2 separate regions of the Homo sapiens genome follow, and region 2 is linked to region 1. The links are contacts of gene promoters, found by promoter capture Hi-C in human tissues and cell types (Jung and others, 2019). All regions are on one chromosome and are shown on one strand. Each heading gives the region's core, a stretch centred on a gene start or on the middle of the fragment in contact. The rest is flanking DNA. Distances are from core to core; before and after follow the strand shown.

Region 1 (7,613 bases), core at 1,496-3,995:
GAAAAAGGAGCACCAGTTTGATTGTTGCTGAAAACTTCTTTAGTTGAAAATAATGTTTTGAGGTTTCGACTGAATGTATAACTGTCTTTGAATTTTTAGTTAAGTAGTGTGATGAAATTCATCAGATATTTAGCACCATCTGTGATCAAGAAGTCAAAAAAAAAAAGAATATAAGACCCAAGTGAGAGAAGTCCTGTACTGGTTGAGAAAATAGGCTTTTGGAATAAAGCAGATCTGGGTTTGAGTTTTGTCTCTACTGTCCACAGTCACTGAACTCTGTGCCTCAGTTTCCCCATCTATTAAATGGGGATAATGAACATATTTATCCTGTAGAGATTTTGTGAAGCTTAAATGAGATTATCTACATAAAACATTTATAATGGTAAACACAATAAATGTTATTATTAGCTACTACCTGAGGCAAAGCATATAAATAAAAAAAGATACATATACACCAAATAGCACACACTAATGAATAAATTTTTGACCATTTGAATCATTGTTTACAGAAAACACATGAAAATTTGTTCCTACCTTTAAAAAAGGATTCCAGATATATTTTCCTTATTAGGGAGAAGGTTACTAATTTTCTAATACTGAAAGTGACATCTGAGTGAAGACCTCATTAGGCGGTGAGTTGTGTGGCTCTTTGTGGAAGAGCATTTTGAGCAGAAAGAACAGCCAGTGCAAAATTCTGAAAGGATAGCTGGACTGTGTTTGAGGATCAGCCAAGAGGTCTGTGTGGCTAGAGAAGAGTAAGCAGGGTGATTGAAGTCAGAGAAATAAGAGGGTGGGGCTGGGTGCAGTGGCTCACGCCTGTAATCGCAGCACTTCGGGAGTCCGAGGCAGGTGGATCATGATGTCAAGAGATTGAAACCATCCTGGCCAACATGGTGAAACCCTGTCTCTACTAAAAATACAAAAATTAGCTGGGCGTGGTGTCACACGCCTGTAATCCCAGCTACTTGGGAGGCTGAGGCAGGAGAATTGCTTGAACCTGGGAGGTGGACTTTGCAGTGAACAGAGATCGCACTCCAGCCTGGTGACAGGGTGGGATTCTGTCTCAAAAAAAGAAAAAGAAGGAAAGCAAGAAAAGAAAGAAAAGGGTGGAGCAGGTCCTATAGGGCCTGGTTGGTCATCGTGAAGACTTTGGACTTTACTAAATGACTTGGGAACTTGTTGGGTCTTGAGCTAAGGAGTGACATGGCCCAATTTCTGTATTAAAAGGATAACCCTGACTAGTGTGTTCAGAATAGAGTAGGGTGGGCAGGGCAGAAAATGAAGGGAGACCGTGGTCAGGAGGCCACTGCGGTATCCCAGGTTGATGGCAAGGGCAGCTTGGACCAACCAAGGCATCACCACCATGGGCACAGAGCATGGTCAGCATCTGCTGTGTTTTGAATCCTGAGCTGATAGAAATTGGCAATGTCTGACAGGAACGGATGAGCTGAAGATGCCTCCAAGTTTTCTCTCCTGAACAACTGGAGGAAAATAGTTCTTTTACTGAGATGAGGAAGACACAGGGGACGGGCAGGTTTGGCAAGAAATATGCAGCCTTCATGTTGGGACCTGTTAAGTATGAAATAGCTCTGAAGCATCCGATTGGAAATGTTGAGGTGGCAATGAGATCGAAGAGTCTGGCGTTAGTGAGTAGTCTGGGTTAGAAATATAAATGTGGGAGTTATCAGGCTATCATTGGTATCTAAAACTATGAGACTTGAGGACAGCATTGAGGGGCTGGATAGAGAAAGAAACAGGAGTGACAGGGAAGAACTTGGAGGCACTCTCATGTTAAGGGGTTACAGAGGTAACGCAAAGAGGCCGAGAAGCGGCGGCCAATGAAAGACCAGGAAACCCAGCGGTCTGGAAGCCAGGTGAAGGCATGGGAGCAGGTTGAACTGATGGCTCAACTGGAGTTTGTTAGGCCAGTGGTCCTCAAAGTATTGTTCCAAACCCGCTGCGGCAGCAGCAGCCTCTGGAAACTTATTAGGGACGTGCAGCCTCTCAGGCCCACTCCAGAGCTACTGGATCGGAAACGGAGGGTGAGGCCCTTCAGCAGATTCTGATGCACCCTCAGGTTTTAAAACCACTGCCCTCCTCACAAAATTGCCTGCACAAAATTATAAATGGGAGAAAGGAGGAGGAGGAGGAGGAAGAGGAGGGGAGGAAGAAGAACTCTTTACAAGAAAAGAATATTGTTGGAGACCCACTTAGTGCCCAAAGCAAACAGCTTCCTCAGAAGTAACTCCCTCCCCAACAACCCCCTCCCAGTGTAAAGCCTCCCATTAATCAATCTATCATGGCTCTTTGGAGAGAAGGAATGCCCCCATTTCACCGGACGGAGGGAATGCTGAGCACCAGGCATGCCAGACATTCCACCGGCTAAAAAAAGTGGGGGTGGTATTCCAGGGTTAGCATTGCTGGACCGTAAACGCTGAAACTCCTTAGATATAAAGCTTATTCCACCCAACCGTTTCCAAATTTTCCTCCAGGCTGTCCTTGGAGAATTCCACCCTCTTTCATTCTGGGGAGAAGAAGTTAAAATTAGGGCCAGCCCTGCGGGACTGACATGCCAGATGCAGGGAAGCTGTCCCCAGAAATAAGCGAGTTCCCACCGCGGCTGGGCGGGGCGGGAGCCTCGGGTCCCAACCCAGCGGAGGGACTCCTGGAAGGCCTGCCCCTTCCAAGTGTCTGCAAGGGCTCTGGTCCCAAGCTTTAAAATCCTGAGCGAAGGCACTGCGGGCCGACCTCTCCTCTCCCAGCCAGTCGTGGCTGGCCTTTCAAAGTGTGCAGTTGTCTCCTCCCTGTCCAGCCCCATCGTCGCCCAGGACCAGCTGGGCCGCGGTCTGACCTGAGGCTGCTGCTCAGCGCCGGGGCGCTGGCGCTCTCCATTCGAGCACCTTCCAGCATACCGCTCGGCTCCGGGAGCCGCTCTGCAAAGTTGGGCAGCTCAGAGCGCAAGCTTTGCCTCTCGACTTCTCCCTCCTTGGGTCCCCGGCGCCCCCGCCTCCCACGATCCCTTTCACTAGGAGCAGCCAGTCCCAGCGGGCTGGCAACTTGCACCCCTTCCTAGTCATCCTCCCTGAAACGCGACCATGCTGTTAAGGGGCGTCCTCCTGGCGTTGCAAGGTAAGGCCTGGACCCCGGGACAACCCCGGGGGCGCTCTGACGACTCGCCCCCGCTCCTGCTGCCCCCGGGGGTCCGGCTCACCGTGCTGGGCTGGGCCATCCGAGGGCGCCTCCTGATCCTCCGCAGCCGCTAACTCCCTCCCCTGGCCAAGCCTGGGGTGGGGGTGGGGGTGGGCGTGGGGTCGCTCAGTGGAGGCGCCCGGGGATGCTGGGGGACAGGTACTGCATCCCTCTCCCGCCCCCTCCCGCTCGTCTTTCCCCCACTTTCACCAGGTAGTCCCCCTGGGGCTCCCCGAGTTGGTGCAAAGGCTCCTGGGTGGAGCTCGAACTGAAACTCGCTTTGTGCCCGCAGCCCTGCAGCTCGCCGGTGCCCTCGACCTGCCCGCTGGGTCCTGTGCCTTTGAAGAGAGCACTTGCGGCTTTGACTCCGTGTTGGCCTCTCTGCCGTGGATTTTAAATGAGGAAGGTAAGGAGGCTCGGTGGAGAGGGGCGCGAAGTGAACTTTCTTCCTTGATGGCTTGCTTTTTTTTCCCACATGGGTAATGTTATCTTGGAGTTAATTCTCCGCGGCAAGAAAAGTGTGAGTCATGGATCCTCCTTCAAGCCCTCAGCTGTGCTGCAAGGGATGGCCGAGGCAGGAACGGGGCGGGCGGGAGGCCGCCCTTTGTTTACCTGGCCTATGGGTAGAAGCTTAAAATTTGCGTCTCACCCCAGCACTCCTTAATGGAAGGGAGAAACGGAGCACAGCTAATGATTGTTCTCCGCTGTGGGCCTCTGCAGGCACACCAGCTGTGTGCCTCTGCAGGCCAGCAACCTTTCTGGTCCTCAGGAGACATGTCTGTGAGTTGGGAAAAGTTGCATGGGACTAGTTCTCCTTCAGCTTTGCAGAAATGGTTCCACAATTCTGTGATGGGACGTCAGTGCTAAGACATCACGTCTGCCTTGACCCTGACAGTGTTTTTTGCTGCATGATTTCATCCTCACACTCCTGTTTGTAATCCTGCCCTGGACAAAAGAAACCATGTACACTGCCAAATGCCTGGGGTCCCTGTCTCACTGGTGGTCATTGTCTTACTACTCTATACTGTTTGGGTCCCAAGGACAAAGTTTAAATGTGGGGTCTTCTGAAGTGTCATCTTGCCTTTATATAGTTTTTTTTGTTTTTTGTTTTAAAGTGTGGTTCTCAGTACCCAATGGCAGGCGGCACTGGGTGTCCCTTCTTTCCTTTCTCTCTCTTTTGTCACCACCAGTGAAGCCTGATGCCCACAGACTATTTGGATTGGAAAATAGCCTTCTTTAAAAAACATGGTACCCTAGATGAAACCAGCTCACCTCCTTCCCCACTCAATTGTCCTCAGGCCGCAGATCCTCCCACCTCGCTCCCTGGGGGAGGATGGAGCCCGGAACCCCTGGTTAGATGTATGAACTGTCACCACAGCTCACTCTGCCCCAGGCTTCTACTCAGGGTTCTGCATACATTAGCTTCTCTGACCCTCACAGGTAGGTGATGTTGGACCCGTTTTACAGAGGAAGGAATCTCAGCCATAGAATATTCAAATGGCTAGTCCATATCACAGTGTCACTGAGTGGCTAACTCTGAGTGTCTAGTTAGGAAGAAACAGGAAGGAACTGGTTCAGTAGTAATCTCCATCTTTATCCAACAATTGCCAAGTCTTGACTACTACAGTCTACTTAGGGGTGGCTGGGAAAAAGCAATTCTTGATTTATTATTCGAGGGATTCCTATCTTGCTGATGGCTTTAGGAAAGTCTCTGTAATCTTGCCACTCACCCTTTCCCTATACTGGCTGTATGGAAGCATTGCGGGAGATGGCCTTAGAAATGCCACGAGACTGGCTTTGGAGAGCACACTCCTCCAGCACGGGGCTTCTCAAACCTCAGCTGCATCAGAATCACCTGGTGGGCTTGTAAGACACAGATTGCTGGGCCCCACTTCCTGAGTGTCTGATTCAGGGGGCCTGAGAATTTCTAACAAGTTCCCAGGTGATGCTGATGATGCTGGTCTCGGGACTACACTTTGAGAACTGCCGACTTCCACAGTCTGTGTACACACACACACAACCTGTGCTGTTGTTGGCTCTGAGTAGGTCTGGCACTAGGGTGAAGGAGCTACTTGCAGGACCCGAGAGTGAACAGCTACTTAAGTCTTGTTCCCTAAGCACTTGGCTTGCCTCATCCTAGTGCTGGCCCTGAGAAAAGGAAATCAACATCATTCCTTAAGCCAGGAGCCTTAGTTAGTCTCTGAGTTCCTGCCTCCGGCCCTCTGTCAGGATGGGGGCCCCCTCACAGCCTGCCTCTGGTCAGTGGGCATGCCACAGCCTGCTGAACACAACTGCCTCCCAGACCCACAGGAAGTCTCTCTGCTGAGTTGGCACCTCTGCCCCAGGACAGCAGTTAAACCATCCCCCTTCAGGGAAAACAGGAAGATGCTTATAGAAAAAGGTGATTACAGTTTAATAGTATAACGAAGGCACTGTGGCTTTGCTTTCTGCATTCTTTCTAACAACCACTGCTTTCTGGCTCAGGACTGGGACTACTGGGTTGGCTGGCGGAAGTTAATTCATTCTCCTCTGAGCACTCCAGGGTGGAGCAGGCAGGTTAGGCTCCAGTTGTTCCAGCTTCAGTTTGTCAAAGGCCAGAACTTGGACGTAACAGTGTACTGCAGGCTCCAGGGCAGTGAGGTAGGTGTGTGGCAGTTGCTGTGGTTGCCTAAGAAGACATCGCTAAGAATTTCCCTTATAAGCCCATTTCTAGGTTGGTAAATTAAAGATAATAAAATTCTTCCAGGCTGAAATTTGGCAAGCTGTTCACAAGCTTCTCTGCAAATGCACTTCTTCCTGCAGAAACCCTTTGAAACTGGTTCCATGGTTCCATTCACCTTCATGTACTGGATCCACCATGGAAAGTAGTGGGTTTCAGAGACTTTTGCCCACATGCACTTCTTTTTTTTTTTTTCTTTAAGTTCTGGGATACATGTGCAGAATGTGCAGGTTTGTTACACAGGTATAAATGTGAATGGTGGTTTGCTGCACCTATCATCCCGTCATCTAGGTTTTAAGCCCCGCATGCTTTAGGTATTTGTCCTAATACTCTCCCTCCCCTTGCGCCCCACCCCCAACAGGCCCCGGTGTGTGAAGTTCCCCTCCTTGTGTCCGTGTGTTCTCATTGTTCAACTCCCACTTATGAGTGAGAACATGAGGTGTTTGGTTTTCTGTTCCTGTGTTAGTTTGCTGAGAATGATGGCTTCCAGCTTCATCCATGTCCCTGCAAAGGACATAAACTCACTCTTTGGTATTGCTGCATAGTATTCCATGCTGTATATGTGCTACATTTTCTTTATCCAGTCTATCACTGATGGGCATTTGGGTTGGTTCCATGTCTTTGCTATTGTAAATAGTGCTGCAATAAACATATGTGCCAGATGCACTTCTTATATGTCCATGGTCCGTAGGTTAATTTATTGTGGAGAGAACAATGCAAAAGGCCAGAGAAGGAAGGTAAGTTGGGACACAAATCTGCGAACTGGGGTTTCATCACAGGAGAATCAAATCTGGAGGTAGTTGGAAAAGTCTCCTTGTCTCTAAATATCCCCTTTGCTGCCTGAAATAGTTTCTGAGGTTCATGCCTTTGATTTACAGTATTAAGTCCCTAGATGTCCCTGATTACAGTTCGAGTGTCTCTATTTCATGGCCACTTTAAAATATGCTTTATCTCCACTGGACACAGAATAGGTAAGTTTTGACCAGGCATTGTGTTGGCTTGGGTTATTTATCCCAATGGCAGTTTCCCCCAGGGAATGCCAGGTGCACCATACAGGGCATCGGGCACTGAAACCCAGTTTTGTCTACTTTCTCATTTTGCCCATGGTTGTCCTGCTTTCTTGATCTCCCTCTATTCTTTTTGTAGAATATTTTAATTTTCCCTAACTTGTCAAGGGAAGTGATACTATGTCAGACTCAAATTTGAACTCACTTCTAAATCTTAAGTTTGAATTGAATCCGGCAAAGAAGGGATCTGTTTTTGTTTTTTGTTTTGTCTCTTTCAGAAGGAGTCTCACTCTGTTGCCCAGGCTGGAGTCCAATGGCGTGACCTCGGGTCACTGCAAACTTCGCCTCTCGGGTTCAAGTGATTCTCCTGCCTCAGCCTCTGGAGTAACTGGGGCATGCACCTGTAGTACCATCTACTCAGGAGGCATGTGCTACCACCCCAGGCTAATTTTTGTATTTTTAGTAGAGATGGGATTTCACCATGTTGGCCAGGCTGGTCTTGAACTCCTGACCTTGAGTGATCCACCCGCTTCGACCTCCCAAAGTACTGGGATTACAGGCATGAGCCACCGCGCCCAGCCAGGGTTCTGTTTTATCCTGTGAAAATCTTTCTCCATTCATTTATCCTATAAAAAAAATCATCTTTATTCACAGCTCAGAGGATCTGGAAACCCCTTTGAGCAGCAGTCCTCAGCTGA
Region 2 (7,613 bases), core at 1,988-4,487, 46 kb after region 1:
CAAGCACACCACCCTCTGTGTTCTAGCTATGAAGAGGTTGCTTGCCTTGAGCATTGGCAGTAGTGTTTGTATTGGCATTTAAGGCAGAGCTAATGACTATTTGGAATCATCCACATTCCTTTTCCCAGCCCCTTCTGTGATCAATGACCCACATCTCTAAGACAGCTCTCAAGATTGGGGATGCAGATCATTGTTATTAACAATTTTTTATGTCTGCAGAAAGCAAATAAACCCTCCAGGGATTGAGTTTTTGACCTTGGCTTCTGGCCAACTCCTATCATAGAGTAGAAAATATTATTAACCAGGCACTACATTCTTACTGGGCCCCAGCTGAGCCTTGATTCAATTTAGACTTTAATATAAATAGAACTGAAATGATCAGCTAATCCATTTTAACAGTGAGACCCATTCTAACAAAACCTTACAAGAAAACCTGGTATATGATATAGATAAGAGGAGAGCTAGTCCCTCAGAATGCAAGTCTGGGACTCTCAATCCCCATTACCCTCTCGCTGCTACAGAGTTCTGTCTGAGAACTAGTGACTGTCCACTAACTTTTTTTTCCAGATGGGGAAACTGAGGCTCGGAGTGGTTAACTCACTATTCAAGGCCACACAGTAGGGACAAAGTTGAGTCCAGATATTTGTCTCCTGACCACCTTCTACTGTCCTGTTCACAACCTCTGCCTCTTTCTTTCCCTTTCCCTGTTCCCTTGAGGTTGAAACCAGCACATCATGCACTCAGTCAGACTTTTGTATTGAGAGCTCTTTTGGACCCCAAGTGAAAAATACTCTAATTCAAATTGGCTTAAGCTAAAGAAGGACTTTATCAACTAATATAAATTAAAAGTTCAGGGATATCTGGCTTCAAGGGCATGTAGGGGCTTAAAAGTTCCATTCAATTTAATCTCCATCTCTTTGTATGTCTTAGCTCTGTGTTGTTGTGCTGGCTTCATTTTCATGGACCTTCTTCATGGACTCCAGCAGATGGAAGCATCCAACATTCTTATAGCTGATAGTTCTCATGGAAAGAAAACTTCTTTTTCCCAATTGCGCTAACAAAATTCTTATAATTGAGTCTCATTTACCTGAGCTGGCTCATGCATGTATCCCTGGACCAATCACTGTGGCAAAGGGTTTGGATGATCTGATTGGTCAAGCCTGGGTCATGTAACCATTCCTGGAAAGGGAGTTAAGGGTCAGAGTCAGCCCCATTCAAATCATTTGGACTGAAAATAAGGAAGGGCAGATTTTCCAAAGAAAAACCAGGATACTGTTAACCAGAAATGTCAGGGAATGGATACTAAGAAGGCACAGACAACATGCATCTACTGCAACATCCTCAACCCTTAGTTGGTTTCTGAGTTTGATACTTAGAAACAAAGGCAAGAGAACCCATTGCAGAGCTGCCTGCACTCTTGCTACTTCTGTAGGTCCCCAAACTGCTCTCTATTACGAACTTTTAAATTTTATTATTTCTCAATTAGGGAGTATTTAGGAATTTCTTGATTTTTTTAAAAGGCATAGAATTTAAACATATCTAAATTTTTGGAGGCAATGGGTAGAAACATCTAGAAGTCTTGACACACTTTAGAGTGTTCAGTTGGGAAAGTAAAATAAGATCAGACAACTTTTACAGAAGTCTCTAAGCAGGATATGATGTTGACAACCCCAATCTCTCTGCCTTCCTTGGTTCCATTCCATTTACCCCTGGGCTCCTACAGTTAAACCAAGAAAGGCTTATAGCTGGGTCATCTCAGGTATGCACTATTAGACATGTTCTGGGAAGAAAACCCTGCCTTTTAGGTCTCCTAGGTGAAGAAAGGTAAGAACAATGGGGGAAAAACAAGATTGCTTCAGAAAATCACCATTTTAATCCTGTAGTTTCGTAGAAGGATTCTAACTTTGGCTTCAACTAGAGGTATTTTAGGAGGCTGGCTGCTAGAAGCATGGGCATAGAGGTCCAGGTACTTTTCTCGATTCTGCATTGTCTGATTGACTTTGATCAAGTTTCTCCTCCTCTCTGGGCCTTAGCTTCCAAGTCCTGAAAAGGAAAGGTTGAAAATATAATAATAACAAACTTTCACGTAAATGAGTGTTTTCCAAAGTGTAGTAGGCATACAATGGTGGTTCATGAGATTATTTCAGGGGGCATGTGGCCATAGTTTTCTATTTTAATAATTATGTATTGATTTTTAAACATACTAGATTCACCAGTACAACTACTCCCAAGTTCATGGATAATATGCTAATTTTCCTGAAACCAACTAAAATAAATGCTACATTTTTCAAAGATGAGTACAGTTAAAGAAAAATATTAAGTAATATTAGTACCATTGGTGCACAGATATGGCAAAACCCCAAAAGTGGTACATGAATGATAGAATTTGAGGAGACTGCTATTTACGACTTAAATATAAAATATTTTGATAGTATAGTATTACAATGATTTGACAGACGTAAAATCTGAGACCATGCTTTACTGAGAATGTACACTACACCAGGAATTGTGCTGGGCACTTTCCATGCATGATGTTATTAAATTTACACAAACGTCTCTGTGAGGTTCATATTATTATCTCCATTTTACGCCTGAGAAACTAAGGCTTGGAGGAGGTTGATTACATTTCCTGAAATCATGCACTGATTGGCTGAGTTGTTATTCTAAGTAAGAGCTACCTGATTCTAAAATCCAGGCTCTTTCTGTCAGCTACACTATTACCCCAGGACTCATGGTTAACAGAGAGAGTAAACCAGGACAGCATCTTCTGACTCCAAATCCTGGGCACTTGTTCTCTAGAATTCACAATGCTTCAAATTCCAGAGGGGCTTTCTGATGCTCTTCACAGTCTAGACAGGGCTGAACATGTGCATTCAGAATATGAAGCTTCATACGTCATCCATTTCTGCAAATAATCCCTTGCCCTTTATCATATCAATGAGTTGTAGCTCTAATTTTATGCATATTTGAATTTTTTGCATCTTAAAAATTGCTTTTGTGCTCTACAAGTTTTGGGGAGCTGTTCAGTGTGCACTCTAGTAGGGACTGGCTGAGAGCTGGCAGGAAAATCTAGGGAATTATAAATAGGCTCTTCCTCAGAATGTATACAAGATACAAGGGGAGGGGAGTGGGGACTCTGGGTGGAGAGGGGAAGAGAAAAGAGTGAAGAAATGTTGTGGTGAGGAGAGAAGCTGGATGGAAAAGTTGGGAATACACCAAATACAAACTCCATATGGTTTAGTAATTTTATTTCAGGCTAGCTTTAGGTCCAAATAAATCTTAGGAACTATTGGTACAATGACTCAATTGTACATTTCTCATAGGACTGCAGTGATTACTTAAATAGATTAGTATTTAGTGATTAGCACATGACTTGACCCATAATAAGTCCTCCTGCAAATGGTAGCTGTTATAGTTGTGGAGATAATCATGTATGTTGTTGAAAATGAGCCTTTTTAACCTAAATATGTCTTATACTCATGTAAATAGAAGGTGTTTTCAAAACTCATTAAGTTCTGCATTGAAATGATTATGAATCAAAAAACGAATGAACTAGGGGAACATGACAACATGGATGACAGATATCCAGTTAATTTTCTTAATACATAAAGAATTTTTGTAAATCAGTACTAAAAGCCCAACAACCCAATTAAAAAAATAGGCCAAGGATGTCACACACACACACACACACACACACACATAAAAATATCAGTGGCTTTTAAACATACAAAAAGATGTCATCTGGGCATGGTGGCTCACACCTGTAATCCCAACACTTTGAGAGGCTGAGGCAGAAGGATCACCTGAGGCCAGGAGTTCAAGACCAGCCTTGGCAACACAGTGAGACAAAAAGTTTAAAATTTCTCTACAAAAAGTTTAAAAATTGGCCTGGTGTGGTGGCTCATGCCTGCAGCTACAGCTACTTGGAAGGCTAAGGTGGGAGGATTGCTTGAACCCAGGAGTTCAGGGCTGCAGTGGGTCATGATCACACCACTGCAATCCAGCCTGGGTGACAGAGCAAGACTCTGTCTCAAAAAAAAAAAAAAAAAAAGTTCAATTTAACTCATAGTGAGAGAAACCCAAATTACAATGGCACTGGGATACCATTTTTTATCTATCAAATTGTTTAAATATCAAAAAGTTTAGTAACATACACTGTATTTATGATGATGGGGAAAGTGCTCTAATACATTGTTTCTACCAACATAAATTGGCACAACTTCAGGAATGAAAGTGTGGGAACATTTAGCCAAAGTATAAATGGCACATTTCCTTTAACTCAGCAGTTCCCTTTCGAGGGTCTTCTTCCATGGTTATACTCAGAAATCCGTACTTAGTCCTAAATACAAGAAGATTTATCACCACATTGCTTTTAATAGCTTAAGATTGGAAAATTATGCATCACAAGGGCACCAATTAATTAAATTATGGTACATTTATACAATGGAAAGCTATGCTATGTGGCAGTTAAAGATATGAGGAAGCTTTAGATAGAGAAACAGATAGATAATATAACCATCTCCAAGATATATTCAGTGAAGAACAGCATGGCACAGAATCGCATATAGTATGTTAACTGTTTGTAGAAAAATTAAAAGGCTATATCTAAAGATATGTTTGTGTGTGTTTATACATGAATAAAGTATCTCTGGAAGGGTGTCCCAGAAACTGAGGGTAAGAGGAAGGCTTGGCTTCAGTTTCTTATATCTTTGAATTATGTATCATTCTGTATTACTTACTAAAAATAAACCCCACAGAGTCCACATGGAGAGTTGGCCCTGGAACACTGAGAGACATCATTTGTGTGGTTTTTGCCACCCTCTTTTCTTGCTCGGCTCAGCCCACTGCTATGCTGGAGTAGGTCACAGGCCAAGAGCTGGACATGTGCAAAGCCTTCAGGAAGACCTAATCTCAGAGTCAGGGAGAGAAGGCAGGAGCCACAGTGTAGCCCATTTAATCCAAGAGGGTCCACCATGACTTTCGAATCTAAAATACTCTTTTCACAGATAAAGAACTGGCCTGGAACCTGAGGTTGCAGGATGCCCTGTTACATTTGAATTTCAAATAAAAATCAAATAATTTTTTTAGTATAAGTATGTCCCCAGTGATATTTGGAACATATTTACGAATTTTTAATTGCTTAATTTGGCAATCCGAATCGGATCCGGAATCTGGCTGCTTGTTAGGCAGCAGATACTCTCTGAGCCAGACCTTCCTGATTTAGGAAATGAAGGATGATAACTGTCCAATTGTATCATGGGGTTGCTATGAGGCTTAATTATGCCCCAGTGCTTTGTGAATAGTTAAGTGCTCTAAATTGGTCAGGAATGAACACAGTTGCTATCAGTGTTATTGTCATCAAAACCCTAGTCTCCATGGCAACCAACTTATTGAAACCTACTGCCTTGTTTTCTCCCAACTTTACTGTGATTTATTTCTCATAAGCCTTAGGCACATAGTCATACATTTATCTTTCTTACTTAAGGAAGATTTCCAAATAACGGGGACTTCATTTTCAGTGTTTATTGTTCTTGGACTTAAATTTATTGCCTTAATTTTAAAATATCTTTACCTTAGGTAAATGACTGGCAGGGTAGACTGCTTAATTCATTTGGCATGTATTTATTTAACACCTATTATGTTACTTGGCATTAAAGGTAAAGCGCTGAGTAAAATAGACAAAAACCTGCCATCAATGAATATATGGTCTGGCTGGAGTCCAGCTGTGTTAGAATAGAAGGAGGAGAGTAAGCAGATAAGAAGAGTGCTTATCAAATCTGGCTTGACTATTAGAATCACCTGGGGAGGTGTGTAGGCTTTACTGCAGACCAAGGCCTCCCTCAGTGATTCCATGTGCAGCCAAGGTTGAGAACAGCTGGATTAGAAGGACCAGAGAGCATGTTGGCTCTTGAACTCAATAAAGACTATTTTGCAAGTGATGACTTCTCAGCCAATGCGAATGTGGTTACTTACATAGACATGTAGAGAGTGAATACACAAGCCAGATCTGTAAACTGGGAAAAACAGACGGAAGGAGCAGGAGTCAGTTTTAGAGCAGGCAGGACATGGTATTAGACTGCAGTATTTGAGAAGACCCAAGACTGCCTAAGTAGGGGTTTCCAAACCATCCCTGAGTTCAGACATCAAGCTTCAGAGGCTCATGGAAGGAAGGTTAACTGGGAGGAAACAGACTTAATAGGCAAAATTGCCCTGGACAACAAATGGCTATATAAGACTATTCTGCCTACCTGGTGATCACAGCCATTCTTCTTTGCTCTGCTAATAGATGGATTTCTGTATTCAATTATGTTTGGAGAAAAAAATGTTTTATATTCATGAATCTAGATTAGATTGCTCATTTTACAGATATCATGAGGTTTACCTTCATTTAAACTCTTATTTCTAATCTTACGCTCCCACCATCGTAAGTCATATCTTCTCTATAATGCAATGAAATGAAATGTGTTTACCTCCACTGCTACGTTTTCTTTTTCAATGGAATATTCTTGTTCCTACTTGCTTTTATCCTTTATAATAGATGTAAAATGCAGAACTTGAAATGTGAAAGTCCAAATCAAAGCAAATATGTATGTGTACCCATACATACATACACACATATGTATATATGTGTGTGTGTATATATATTTATTTATGTATCTGTACTATAGTGAAATTTTCATAGGAACTCCTATTTTCTTCTTGCTTAAATGAAGCTGAAAGGTATATAACTCTTTTGTTTGACAGAATTGCCTTGCACAATACATGAGAAAAAATATTCAGCCATGCTGATGGCAGTGTTCTTAGCAAAACTGGTAAGATAGCATCTCTTGTCTTGTGAATGGACACATATTTTATGGAAGGAGAATACCTTTTTCATACCAGGTACACCTGGGGAACTTGCAGGGTGAATTCAGTTACTCATTATCTTCTGATGTCATCATCATCCACATGTATTTTAAATACAGGGACAGTTTTTTTTTTTTTTTTTCTTCAGATGGAGCCTTGCTCTGTTGCCCAGGCTGGAGTGGCAGTGGTAAGATCTCGGGTTACTGAAACCTCCACCTCCCGGGTTCAAGCAGTTCTCCTTCCTCAGCCTCCCAAGTAGCTGGGATTACAGGCACCAACCACCATGCCCGGCTAATTTTTTTTTTTTTATTTTTAGTAGAAATGGGGTTTCACCATGTTGGTCAGGCTGGTTTTGAACTCCTGACCTCAAGTGATCCACCCACCTTGACTTCCCAAAGTGCTGGGATTACAGGCATAAGCCACCGCACTCGGCCTAAATACAGGGACATTTCTATGTTTAGAAGGAATATCTTCCCTACCTGACAAATGATGTAGTGGAAAATGTGTTCTGAGAACTGATCTTTGGTAGAACAAACACTCTCTATCGGGTAATGCAGCCTTTTCTTATATTTTCATCCTTTGTTAAATACCATATAAAGTGAAGCTCCCTTTCCAAATATTATGTGACCTTTCATTGTGGGTTCATCACTTGGTTTTCTGTTGCTGGTTGCTAAGGTAAACTTCTCTTCTAAAACTGCCACTTGGGCCAGCAGGGCTTAAAGCTACACCCTATGACAGACCCTATGACAAAGGGTGGAACAAACATC

What was found. The method cuts DNA at HindIII sites, captures the fragments that hold promoters and counts their contacts. A contact is called where the count stands out against the background at its distance.
Region 2: a contact is called between a fragment that was not itself captured here and the fragment with the promoter of MAMDC2 in region 1, in 1 of the 25 tissues and cell types used here (spleen).

The regions. Positions count from the first base shown.
Region 1 is chr9:70,041,103-70,048,715 of GRCh38, forward strand. MAMDC2 (MAM domain containing 2) reads left to right here and starts at 2,746. Exons shown (of 14, transcript NM_153267.5): 1 at 2,746-3,129; 2 at 3,482-3,595. The coding sequence starts at 3,096. It overlaps LOC124902179 (a long non-coding RNA gene), which reads right to left and starts at 2,939. Exons shown (of 2, transcript XR_007061571.1): 1 at 2,852-2,939. RefSeq lists a silencer at 2,731-3,025. The HindIII fragment of the contact is 1,989 bases long and covers 1,402-3,390 here.
Region 2 is chr9:70,086,452-70,094,064 of GRCh38, forward strand. All of the region lies in intron 2 of MAMDC2 (MAM domain containing 2), which reads left to right. Among named protein-coding and RNA genes, the nearest start is that of MAMDC2, 46 kb to the left of the region's middle. The HindIII fragment of the contact is 4,157 bases long and covers 1,160-5,316 here.